Linked DNA regions of Homo sapiens: regions 1 and 3 are each linked to region 2. Evidence: promoter capture Hi-C in 16 types of primary human blood cells and fetal thymus (Javierre and others, 2016). All regions are on one chromosome and are shown on one strand. The core of a region is centred on a gene start or on the middle of the fragment in contact, and the rest is flanking DNA. Distances in the headings are between cores, read along the strand shown. Region 1 has its middle 16 kb from the start of TSPAN16. Region 2 holds the start of EPOR (erythropoietin receptor). Region 3 overlaps PRKCSH (PRKCSH beta subunit of glucosidase II).

Region 1 (3,838 bases), core at 1,122-3,621, 100 kb after region 2:
ACCTCTAGTCCCAGCTACTCAGGAGGCTGAGGCAGGAGAATCGCTTGAACCCAGGAGACAGAGGTTGCAGTGGGCTGAGATAGCGCCACTGCACTCCAGCCTGGGTGACAGAGCAAGACTCTGTCTCAAAAAAATTAAAAAAAGGAATGAATGTCCAGACACGGTGGCTCACGCCTGTAATCCCAGCACTTTGGGAGACTGAGGTAGGAGGATCGTTTGAGCCGAAGAGTTCAAGACAAGCCTGGACAACATGGGAGATTCCATCTCAATTTTAAAAATTAAAACAAAATTTAAAGGAATGATACAGTCACACAGGCTGCAGATGAATCTTACAAACTTTAAGCTATGTGAAATAAGCCAGACACGAAATGACAGATGTTGTATGATTGCACTCATGTGACAGTCCAGACTAGTAGATTCGTAGTTGCTTAGGGGTGAGGCGGCAGGGACGAGGGGATAGGGGAATGATAGCTAAAGGCTGTGGAGCTGCTTTTTGAGGAGATGAGACAGTGTTCCAAAATAGGCTGGGTGATGGTTGTACAATTCTGAATATAGGAAAAACCATTGAATTGTACACTTTCGAGGGGTGAATTCTATACTGTGTAGACTATATCTCAGTAAAGCTGTTTTTAACAAAAAGAAAGAAAAGTTTTTGCCTCTAGGCTGAGAGTGAGGAGAAGCTGCAAGCCAAACCTTGGCCCAAAGCCAGTCATCCATCCACAAGGCTGAGTGTGCAGCCCAGGGGCTCAACCTTAAATTAAGAGTAAACCTGGCTGGGCGCGGCAGCTCATGCCTGTAATCCCAGCACTTTGGGAGGCCAAGGTGGGCGGATTACCTGAGGTTGGGAGTTTACAACCAGCCTGACCAAGATGGAGAAACCTCGTCTCTACTAAAAAAAAAAAAAACAAAATTAGTAGGGCATAGTGGTGCATGCCTGTAATCCCAGCTACTCGGGAGGCTGAGGCAGGAGAATCGCTTGAAACCGGGAGGCAGAGGTTGCAGTGAGCCGAGATCATGCCATTGCACTCCAGCCTGGGCAACAAGAGTGAAACTCTGTCTCAAAAAAAGAAAAAAAAAAAAAAAAGAGTAAACCTGGGGGCTGAGCGGCAGTGCCTCATGCCTGTAATTCCAGCACTTTGGGAGGCCGAGGCGGGTGGATCACTTCAGGTCAGGAGTTTGAGTCCAGTCTGGCCAACATGGTGAAACCTTGTCTCTATTAAAAATACAAAAAAATTAGCTGGGGGTGGTGGCACGCACCTGTAATCCCAGCTACTCAGGAGGCTGAGGTGAGGCACGAGAATCGCTTGAACCCAGGAGGCAGAGGTTGCTGTGAGCCGAGATTGTGCCACTGCACTCCAGCCTGGGCAACAAGAGCAACATACTGTCTAAAAAAAAAAAGAGTAAACCTGGGCCAGATGTATTGGAGGCAATAGGATTGTTTGAGGCCAGGAGTTCAAGACCAGTGTGGGCAACATAGCAAGACCCCATCTCTACAAAAAAAAATTTTAATTACTGGGTCAGGTGATGGACACCTGTAGTCCCAGCTACTCAGGAGGCTGAGGCAGGAGGATCACTTGAATCCAGGATTTCAAGGCTACAGTGAGCTATGATCATACCACCAGGTTGCATCCAACCTGGGCAACAGAGCAAACCCCAAATAAATTCTTTTTAGAAAGAGTAAACTTGGGCCAGGTGTGGTGGCTTACGCTTGTAATTCCAGCACTTTGGGAAGCCGAGGTAGATGGATCACTTGAGGTCAGGAGTTTGAGACCAGCCTGGCCAACATGGTGAAACCCCGTCTCTACTAAAAATACAAAAATTAGCCACTGAGCATGGTGGCACATGCCTGTAATCCCAGCTACTCGGGAGGCTGAGGCATGAGAATCGCTTGAAGCCAGGAGGCGGAGCTTGCAGTGAGCCAGGATCGCGCCACAGCACTCCAGCCCGGGTGACAGAGTGAGACTCCGTATCAAAAAAAAAAAAAAAAAAAAAAAAAAAAGAGTAAACTTGAAAAACAGGAGAGAGAAGATGCCGGAAGAGAAGATGCACCATTGCCCAGGGTGCAGCAGGAAGGTTGAGGTCAGATCCTCCCAGCAACCCAAGCGAACCATCACCCAACTGGAAACCATTTCCTTTGTGGCCATGAAACAATGGGCTACAACTTTCTTTTGTGGCTCAAAACCACAGAGAAGCTTCCTATTGTGGGATTCACCACCACCACCACAGCAGAAGTTTTTTCTCATGGGTTCTGGGAGCAAATACAATGGCTTCTGAAACTGAGGTCTGGCTCTACTTCCTTGAAGACCTCTCCTTTCCTTTCTCTGCATGACAATGCTCCCCAGAGACTCTCTTCTTTCCCCATGCCACCTTTTGTACCCTGGGGTGGCCTTGTCTTAGTTTGGGTTCCGTGGAAGCCACCACTGAAACAAGGATTTAATACAAGTACTTTGTCTGAGAGGTGGTGATGCCAGGAAGCAGCAGTTGGGAAGAGGGGACGTGTATGAGTTTGCTAAGGCTGTCATGACCAAGCACCACAGACAGGGAAGCTTATAAAACAGGGCATTTCACAGTTCCGGAGGGTGTATGTCCAAGAATAAGGTGTCAGCAGGGTTGATTCTTTCTGAGGTCTCTCTCCTTGGCTTAGAGCCAGTTGCCTTGTTTCTGTGTCTTCACATAGTCTTTCTTTAATGCTTGTCTCTGTGTCCATATCACCTCATCTTTTCTTTTTTTTTTTCTTTTTTTGAGACAGAGTCTTCCTCTGTCCCCCAGGTTGGACTGCAGTGGCACAATCTCAGCTCACTGCAATCTCCACCTCCCAGGTTCAAGCAGTTCTCATGCCTCAGCCTCCCAAATAGCTGTGATTACAGGCATGCGCCACCACACCCAGCTAATTTTTGTATTTTGGGTAGATACAGGGTTTCACTACGTTGGCCAGACTGGTCTTGAACTCTTGACTTCAAATGATCCACCTGCCTCAGCTTCCCAAAGTGCTGGGATTACAGGCACGAGCCACTGCACCCAGCCCATACCTCCTCATTTTATAAGGATAGTGGTCATTTGGATTAGGGTCCATCCTAATGACCTTGTTTTAATTTGTTCTTTATTTTTTCAATTTATTTTTATTTTGAGGGGAGGGGATGGAGTCTTGTTCTATCACCCAGGCTGGAGTACAGTGGCCTGATCACAGCTCACTGCAACATGGAGCTCCTGGGATTAGGCGATCCTCCCACCGCAGCCTCCTGAATAGCTGGGACTACAGGCTGATTTTTAATTTTTTTTTTTTTTTTGGAGACGAGGTTTCTTTTTCTCTTTTTCTTTTTTTTTTTTTGAGACAGAGCCTTGTTCTGTTGCCCAGGCTGTAGTGCAGCAGTGTGAACACGGCTCACTGCAGCCTTTATCTCACAGGGTCAAGGAATGTGGCGCCTCAGCACTAACTTCCCCTCCTCTGTGTTCCTTGGAGATTTCTCTTACTTTTTTGTGAACTTAGCTGATAACTTAAAAGCATGTTTGCTGTATTTCATTCAGCGTTTTTGTTGCTATTGTCTTTTACTCTGTCACCCAGGCTGGAGGGCAGTGGCACAATCATAGCTCACTGCAGCCTCAAATTCCTGGGCTCAAGCGAACCTCCCTTGTCAGCCTCCCAAGTAGCAGGGACCACAGATATGCGCCACTACACCTGGCTAATTCTTTATTTTTTTTATAGACAGGGTCTCACTATGTTGCCCAGGCTGGTCTCAAACTCCTGACCTCAAGCCATTCCTCCCGCCTCACCCTCTGGAGGCACTGGGATCACAGGTGTGAGCCACCACACTCAGCCTTGCCCAGCTCATGTACAGGT
Region 2 (4,059 bases), core at 709-3,208:
GTTCACACCATTCTCCTGCCTCAGCCTCCCGAGTAGCTGGGACTACAGGCACCCGCCACCACGCCCGGCTAATTTTTTCTATTTTTAGTAAAGACAGGGTTTCACTGTGTTAGCCAGGATGGTCTCGATCTCCTGACCTTGTGATCCACCCACCTCGGCCTCCCAAAGTGCTGGGATTACAGGCATGAGCCACTGTGCATGGACTATTTATTTATTTTTTTGAAACAGAGTTTCAATCTTGTTGCACAGCCTGGAGTGCAATGGTGTGATCTCAGCTCACTGCAACCTCTGCCTTCTGGTTTCAAGCAATTCTCCTGCCTCAGCCTCCTGAGTAGCTGGGATTACAGGCACCCACCACCACGCTCGAATATATATATATATTTTTTGAGACGGAGTCCCGCTCTGTCACCAGGCTGGAGTGCAGTGGCACAATATCGGCTCACTGAAACCTCCGGCTCCTGGGTTCAAGCGATTCTCCTGCAGCCTCCCAAGTAGCTGGGATTACAGGCATGCAGCACCACGCCCATCTAATTTTTGTATTTTTGGTAGAGATGGGGTTTTACCATGTTGGCCAGGATGGTCTTGATCTCTTGACCTCGTGATCTGCCCACCTCGGCCTCCCAAAGTGCTGGGATTACAGGCGTGAGCCACCGCGCCCGGCCTACGCCTGGCTAATTTTTGTATTTTTAGTAGAGACGTGGTTTCGCCATGTTGCCCAGGCTGGTCTCGAACTCCTGACCTCATGATCCGCCTGTCTCGGCCTCCCAAAGTGTTGGGATTACAGGTATGAGCCACCGCGCCCAGCCAATTATTATTATTTTTTGAGATGCAGTCTCACTCTGTTGCCCAGGCTGGAGTTGCAGTGGCATGATCTTGGCTCACTGCAATCTTCATCTCCCAGACTGAAGCAGTTCTCATGCCTCAGCCTCCTGAGTAGCTGGGATTACAGGCACACGCCACCACACCTGGCTAATTTTTGTATTTTTAGTAGAGATGGGATTTCACCATGTTGGCCAGGCTGGTCTCAAACTCCTGACCTCAAGTGATTTGCCCACGTCGGCCTCCCAAAGTGCTGGGATTATAGGCGTGAGCCACCGGGCCCAGCCCAAGAGAATAAAAATGTGGGTGGTAAAAATTTTTTTCCCAAAAATTCGTAAATGAAAATCTCACATATTATGCATACTGCCCAGGAGCATGGCCTAGCACTGTGCAAACACTCAACTGCTGGTCGTTGCAAGGATTATTATTGGCCGGCTTCAGTGGCTCGTGCTGGTATTCCCAGCACATTGGGAGATGGAGGCTGGAGGATTGCTTAAGTCCGGGATTTCAAGACCAGCCTGGACAACATAGTGGGATCCCATCTCTACAAAGAATTTTAAAAATTAGCCAGGTGCAGTGGGAAGATTGCTTCAGTCCAGAGGCTGCAGTGAGCTATGATTGTGCCACTGCACTCCAGCCTGGGTGACAGAGCAACACCCTGAGACAGAGAGAGAGAGGGGGAAGGAGGGAAGGAGGGAAGGAAGGAAGGAAGGAAGGAAGGAAGGAAGGAAGGAAGGAAGGAAGGAAAGGAGAGAGAGAGAGAGAGAGAGAGAGAGAGAGAGAGAAAATAATTTTTATTTATTTCCAGGCTGGGAAGAGATGCTGATTTCTGCGATAAAATCAGTAGGTACATTTTTTGGAATGTTCGCTATGTGCCAGGCTAGATTTTACAGATGAGAAGTCTGAAGCTCAGGTAAGGTAAGTCACCTGTCCAGGGCCACAAAGAAAAAAAAAACGTGTGTCTGAAGCCAGAACGGGAGCTGTTGCGGCCCAACTCCCTCCCCTGCCCCCAAGCGGCCTCTGGGCTCGGGAAGGGCCCCTGCCTCCTCCCGCCAGGCACTTATCTCTACCCAGGCTGAGTGCTGGCCCCGCCCCCTCGGGGATCTGCCACTTAGAGGCGCCTGGTCGGGAAGGGCCTGGTCAGCTGCGTCCGGCGGAGGCAGCTGCTGACCCAGCTGTGGACTGTGCCGGGGGCGGGGGACGGAGGGGCAGGAGCCCTGGGCTCCCCGTGGCGGGGGCTGTATCATGGACCACCTCGGGGCGTCCCTCTGGCCCCAGGTCGGCTCCCTTTGTCTCCTGCTCGCTGGGGCCGCCTGGGCGCCCCCGCCTAACCTCCCGGACCCCAAGTTCGAGAGCAAAGGTAAGGATGAGCTGCGTGTGGACCCCTACGCTGGAGCCTGCAGGACCATGCTGGGGCCTGAACTCCCAGCCTAGGTCCTGGGGGCCATGCCTGTTTCTGGACTTCCTGACCGGGTCCTGGGGGCCAAGCTGGCATCTGAACCCTTAGACTGGGTCCTGGATGGGTGGGGGGCGGGGTGGGGTATGTTAGGATCCAAGACTCCTGATCGCGTCCCGGGCAAGAGCTAGAGTGGGCTTAACATTCCCGTTTTACCTTTTCAGGGAGTCTGGGACATGCTAAATCCTAAGGGGGCTGACTTGGTGCTAAGGTCCCTGGGGGGTGGGGACCAAGCCGACCCTCCCTAGGGGAGGGAGGGTAAAGCCCGGGTCCGAGTTAGAGGGGCCAAGCCACAGGCTACTGTAAACACGGTTTGTGTGAGGGCGCCAGATCACTTGCCCGGCCCGGTGGAGGGAGGGAGGCGGGGGGCACGGTTGGCGCTATCGGTTGGCGGGGAGCCTGCCGGGGCCGATAGGGGGCCCGCCTCTCCGCACACACCCCCAGCCGCGCGCGTGTCCTAGGCTGGGGCGGGGCTGGCAGTCCCGAGCTCGAGGTCTTGAACGCCGCGCCCAGCTCAGCTGGCCGCTGGGTGGGCAGGTGTGCGCCAGTGGTGACGGCGGGGGACAGTAAGGCGAGAAACTTGCCCCTGGGAATTAGGGGGGCACCACCTCTGCGGACCCCTCCAAGGGACCCGCTTGGGAAGATGGCAGGGCGGGGCTTTTTTCTTATCGGGTCCGCCCAGGCTGCGGGAGGGAAGAGGAGGGGGCTGTCTCCCGAGGATAGAGCTCAGACCCCCATGCCCTTCCTTTGTCGCCCCTCCCCAGCGGCCTTGCTGGCGGCCCGGGGGCCCGAAGAGCTTCTGTGCTTCACCGAGCGGTTGGAGGACTTGGTGTGTTTCTGGGAGGAAGCGGCGAGCGCTGGGGTGGGCCCGGGCAACTACAGCTTCTCCTACCAGCTCGAGTGAGTCCGATCCGGCGGGTGCCTCCAAGGGCGGAGGGAGGGGGTGGGGCAGAGCTCCCTGGAGGTCGTAGCCTCGTATGTCCCCTGCTGTTTGAGGCCCGACGGCGCCTCCAGTCGTGGTCACTGGAGGGAAACCTGCGGGTCCAGGGCTGGCACGCCCTCTATGGGCCGGGGCGCGAACACTCCCGCGATCACCGCTGGAACGCGACCCCAAACATCAGGCTGGGATAACAACGCCTCCAAATCGAGGGTAAGGCGTTACTACGTCGGGGCTGGGACGCCTTCTCGAGGTAGTATCCAAAAGGAGGCCAGCAGTGGCTCATGCCTGTAATCCCAACTCTTTGGAAGGTCGAGGCGGAAGAACCGCTTGAGCCCAGGAGTTCAAGACCAGCCTGGGCAACACAGCGAGATCCCCGTCTCTTAAAAAAAAATTAGACTGGGCGCGGTGGCTCACGCCTGTAATCCCAGCACTTTGGGAGGCTGAGGCGGGCGGATCACCTGAGGTCGGGAGTTTGAGACCAGCCTGGCCAACATGGAGAAACTCTATCTCTACTAAAAATACAAAATTAGCCGGGCGTGGTGGCGCATGCCTGTGATCCCAGCTACTCGGGAGGCTGAGGCAGGAGAATCGCTTGAACCCGGGAGGCGGAGGTTGCGGTGAGCCGAGGTAGCGCCATTGCACTCCAGCCTGGGCAACAAGAGCGAAACTCCGTCTCAAAAAAAAAAAAAAAAAAAGCCAGGCGTGGCGCGTGCCTGTGGTCTCAACTACTTGGGAAGCTGAGGTGGGAGGATCCCTTAAGCCCCAGAATTTGAGGCTGCAGTGAGCCATGATCGCGCCACTGCACTCCAGCCTGGGCGACGAAGGAACACCTTGTCACACACAC
Region 3 (4,376 bases), core at 1,877-4,376, 66 kb before region 2:
ATCCACCTGTCCACGTGCACACGTGAATGTAGCGATAGATATTTGGACATCAAATTTGGACACCAGGTCACGGAGAAACACAAACACCACCCAGGAACACGCAGACATATGCCCATAGCATCCCACAGGCCCAGGCAGGAGGTCCCACCCCAGACCCTGCCCCAGACGCTCCCTCACCCTCTCGGCCCCCTCGCCCTGGCCCCCAGGTTCTCTGCAGAGATCTCTCCTGGACCCCCAGCGGTCTCCTTGGCGCCCACGAACACAGGCGTGCACACGCAGCGCACATGCATTGAGACACACGATACCTCGTTCCACCTTGGCGTCACGGTGGGCTGGAGGCAGCCCCCCCCCCCACAACACTTGAGGCCAAAGGACACCCCTGTCCCCGGGGCTCAGCCTCCCCCTGGGCCGAGGCCTTGGCCCACACAGCTGAGGGAGAGGCCCAGCCCTGAGCCTCCCCCACCAGGACTGGGCCTCCCCGGCAGCAAGACCCCGGCACTCCCCGCCAGGCCCAGGGTGGGGTGGATGGGCCCAAAGGCCCAGCCCCACACTCCTTTCCCGTCCACTTGTCACCTACCTATCCCCTTTCGGTTTGTTGGGTTTTTCGTCTTTCCAGATTGCAGTGGACACAGCCCCCGATCTCGAGCCCCGGCCCCCGGCTTCTGTCTGGACATTGCATCGCCCTAGTTTTCTTTCTTTAAAAAAAAAAAATTCCAACAGAAGCCACAGGCCGGAGCCCCTGGGAGCCCTCGCACCGCTCCCCACCCCACTCAGCGGCCCCATCGGAACTGAGAATTGCAAAACCCCCGACTTTAGCTATAGTTAAGTTGCCTTCCCCCGGTGTCCCCACGTTTGGTGTCTGGCTATGGCGCCCCCATCTGACTGTCCAGCTCTCTCTCCCCCACCCCTCCCGGTGTTGTTATTAAACGTCTGTGGAGCTTCTGCTGCAAGGAACAAAAAAGAAAAAAATCAAAAAAGCGACAAAAAAACACAAACAGAAGAGGAAAAAAAAGCAACAAAAAAAGAAAACACACAGAAGAGATTTAAAAAAAAAAAAGGAAAAAAAAAAAAGACATAAACTGGCACCAGTTAACTTTCTTGTACTTTTTTGCTGAATTTAGCTTCTTGTAGTTTTAACTTATTGCTATGTTAACTATTTATTCTCCTCGTTGCCCTGTAAGGACATCCGTGTATATTTCTGTTACTTCATCCGGTTTGCAAGTTAAAGGAACGACAATGTTCTCTTTGTTTCTTTAAGTTTTGCCGAGACATGGTTATGCCTAATTTATTTATAAAAGGGGAAGTGGAATCATTAAAGTAATAATAATTATTAATAACAGTAATGGTAGCCGAGTGGCACGCGGGGGCGTGTGCTCTGCGGGACAGTCCCCACGGCCAGCGACGTCCAGGTCACCAATGGGATTCTTTTTGCTCTTGTCTTGAGAATTTTTTCAGTCCTATTTAGCTGGTGAAATCCCTAGCTTGTTCTTGATACACGAACCTATTTATTCTCGTGGTTTTAAGTCCTCCCTGCCCTCTCTCCTCTCCCCTGCAGCAGGGCAGGGACCCCTCTCCCCTGCTGTCTCTTGGGGCTCTCTCCCCTCCGCCCTCTGCATTCGGGAACACGCACGTCCGCGTGGGAAGCTTGCAGCAGGGCGTCCGAGCAATAAGGGCTGGGTTTGTCCCCCACCCTGGGGGGGGCCAGGCTCCAGAGAGGGGGCACCTCCCCACACACCCCCCCCCCACCGAGGCCTAGGCCCCTGCCACCCCCAAGACTGGGAGGGGACTTCTTTTTCTAAAACACAAAACTCAGCCCAGCCAGGCCCCCTCCCTGGAGGCCAGCCCCTCCCCGCAGGGGGCCAGGCCGGGGCTCCCAGGCGAGGGGGACTTGGGGCTTCCACGTCCCTGGGGGGCAGGGGCCAGGCCAGGGGGGAGGGGGCTCAGCCCCTCCACCCCTCCCTTCATCCTGTTATTTATTCGGAAGGTTTCAAATCACGACAGAGTCCATGTTGGAGGTGATAAAAAACTGTAAAAAAAAAAAAAAAAAAAAAGACAAAACAAAAGACAAAAAAAAAAAAAAAACCCAACAAGAACACTTCGCGTTGCGTTTAGACTATTTATTACCGGGATCACAGGCCTGGCCGCGGTAACAGACTTTTACATGGAATTGTTTAATTATTTGTACTTTTCATGCCAGAAAATAAAAGTTCAGAATCTTAAGGCCTTGGGTGATCTCTGCACCGCTGCGCGGGGAGCACGCAGGAGCAGCCTGTGTAGTAGCGCCCAGGCCCCCGTCCTTCTCTGGGCCTGGGTCTGTCTGCAGCAGGGGCTTTGGCCCCGGGAGGGAACCCTTGGCCTCCACAGAGCACAGATGAGACCCAGGGAAGGTGGGACACGGGCCCGGATGGATGCTCAAGACAGAAATGGTCCAGGGTCCATCCACCTGGTATCTTCAGGAGTGATCCCCAGATGGTGGGGGAGGCCCGGGTGGGATCTGCAGAAAGCTGCGTCCCCTGCGCTCAACCCCTGCCCACACCCCGGTCCACACCCCAGCAAAGCGAGGCAGACACAGACAAGTTTGGGTGGGGGATCACATTTATTGTATTGAGGTCACAGGTCAAGTCATTCACTAGTCCCCACTAGGAGGGGTGGCAGGGACAGGGCTGGGGGTGGTGGGGCGAGTCACCAAGGTGGGGGGCCCAGGGAGGGCAAGCTCCTTTACCCATCTTTGAAGGCTGTTGGGGCCTGGGAATGTGGACCAGCCCCGCCTGGGCCCCAGAGCAGGGCACGAAGCCCCACAAAGGTCCTGCCGCCACAGAGGAGGGCAACAGAGCCACAGGCAGGCCCAGAGGGGCGGGTGGACGGCACTGCAGGGGCTGGCTTCATGCCTTCTTGAGGTTCTGGGGCAAGAGAAAGACCAGATTAGAAAGCTGGGGACAGCTGGACATGGTGATGTTTGCCTGTAGTCCCGGCTGCTTGGGAGGCTGAGGTGGGAGGATCATTTGAGGCCAGGAGTTGACCAGCCTGGAGACCTTGTCTATTTTCTCTTATTATTATTATTTTTTTTTTTTGAGAGTCTCACTCTGTAGCCCAGGCTGGAGAGTGCAGTAGCATGATCTTGGCTCACTCCAACCTCTACCTCCTGGGTTCAAGTGATTCTTGTGCTTCAGCCTCTTGAGCAGCTGGAACTACAGGCACCTACCACCACACCCAGCTAATTTTTTTGTATTTTTAGTAGAGATGGGGTTTTACACCATGTTGGTCAGGCTGGTCTCAACCTCCTGACCTCAAGTGATCCGCCCACCTCAGCCTCCCAAAGTGCTGGGATTACAGATGTGAGCCACGACGCCTGGCCTATTTAGTTTCAAAAGTAAAAAAATCTTTTTTTAAAAAGCAGGGGATGGCCAGACATGGTAGCTCAAGCCTGTAATCCCAGCACTTTGGGAGGCTGAGGAGGGCGGATCACGAGGTCAGGAGATCGAGACCAACCTGGTTAACACAGGGAAACCCCATCTCTACTAAAAATACAAAAAAATTAGCCAGGCGTGGTGGCGGCGCCTGTAGTCCCAATTACTCAGGAGGCTGAGGCAGGAGAATTGCTTGCACCCAGGAGGTGGAGGTTGCAGTGAGCCGAGATCGCGCCATTGCATTCCACATTCCAGCCTCGGCAACAAGAGTGAAACTCCATCCAAAAAAAAAAAGGCAGGAGATGGCCGGGTGTGGTGGCTCATGCCTGTAATCCCAGCACTTTGGGAGGCCAAGGCAGGTGGATCATCTGAGGTCAGGAGTTCGAGACCATCCAGGCCAACATGGTGAAACCCCATCTCTACTAAAAATTAGCCAGGCATGGTGGTGCACACCTGTAATCCCAGCTACTTGGGAGGCTGAGACAAGACAATTGTTTGAACCCGGGAGGTAGAGGTTGCAGTCAGCTGAGGTCGCATCACTGCACTCCAGCCTGGGCCAAAGAGTGAGACTCCACCTCAAAAAAACAAAACAAAAAAGCAGGGAACATGGGGACACAGGTTGATAGAGTGGCCATGTGGGTCCATCTTCCTCAGGGCCCGCCGCCTCCCCTTGCTGGGGCAGGCCGACGAGACTCCACCTCCCCGCCCACCTCTGCGCCCATCCAGCTAGAGCTCGTCATGGTCGTCTTCGGTGGGTGCTTCAGGCGGTGGCTCCGGGCAGGCGGCTGGCGTCATCAGCTCCATGAGGTACTCGCAGCGACTGGGCTCTGTGGTGCTGGTCACCATGGTCTCTTTCCCGCACAGGAGGCGCACCTGGGGATGGGCAGACGGGTGCTCGAGAGGGTTCGGCTGGGCCAGGCCTGGGTCTCCCCGCCCCAGCTCCCCTGCCTTGCAGGCACTCACGGTGGT

Evidence for each region. The method cuts DNA at HindIII sites, captures the fragments that hold promoters and counts their contacts. A CHiCAGO score of 5 or more calls a contact.
Region 1: a fragment that was not itself captured here is called in contact with the fragment with the promoter of EPOR in region 2 in 5 of 17 cell types (neutrophils, megakaryocytes, monocytes and 2 more); the score reaches 9.1 in neutrophils.
Region 3: a fragment that was not itself captured here is called in contact with the fragment with the promoter of EPOR in region 2 in 1 of 17 cell types (megakaryocytes); the score reaches 6.6 in megakaryocytes.

Annotation. Positions count from the first base shown.
Region 1 is chr19:11,278,413-11,282,250 of GRCh38, reverse strand. No RefSeq gene overlaps it. Among named protein-coding and RNA genes, the nearest start is that of TSPAN16, 16 kb to the left of the region's middle. The HindIII fragment of the contact is 354 bases long and covers 2,195-2,548 here.
Region 2 is chr19:11,382,213-11,386,271 of GRCh38, reverse strand. It overlaps EPOR (erythropoietin receptor), which reads left to right and starts at 1,958. Exons shown (of 8, transcript NM_000121.4): 1 at 1,958-2,179; 2 at 3,040-3,175. The coding sequence starts at 2,065. RefSeq lists a silencer at 2,659-2,718. The HindIII fragment of the contact is 13,821 bases long and covers 1-4,059 here.
Region 3 is chr19:11,449,170-11,453,545 of GRCh38, reverse strand. PRKCSH (PRKCSH beta subunit of glucosidase II) reads right to left here. Exons shown (of 18, transcript NM_001289104.2): 16 at 4,371-4,376; 17 at 4,118-4,280; 18 at 2,578-2,900. The coding sequence ends at 4,134. ELAVL3 (ELAV like RNA binding protein 3) reads left to right here. Exons shown (of 7, transcript NM_001420.4): 7 at 1-2,220. Among named protein-coding and RNA genes, the nearest start is that of PRKCSH, 16 kb to the right of the region's middle. RefSeq lists enhancers at 540-1,310, 1,235-1,354, 1,385-1,434. The HindIII fragment of the contact is 2,960 bases long and covers 1,647-4,376 here.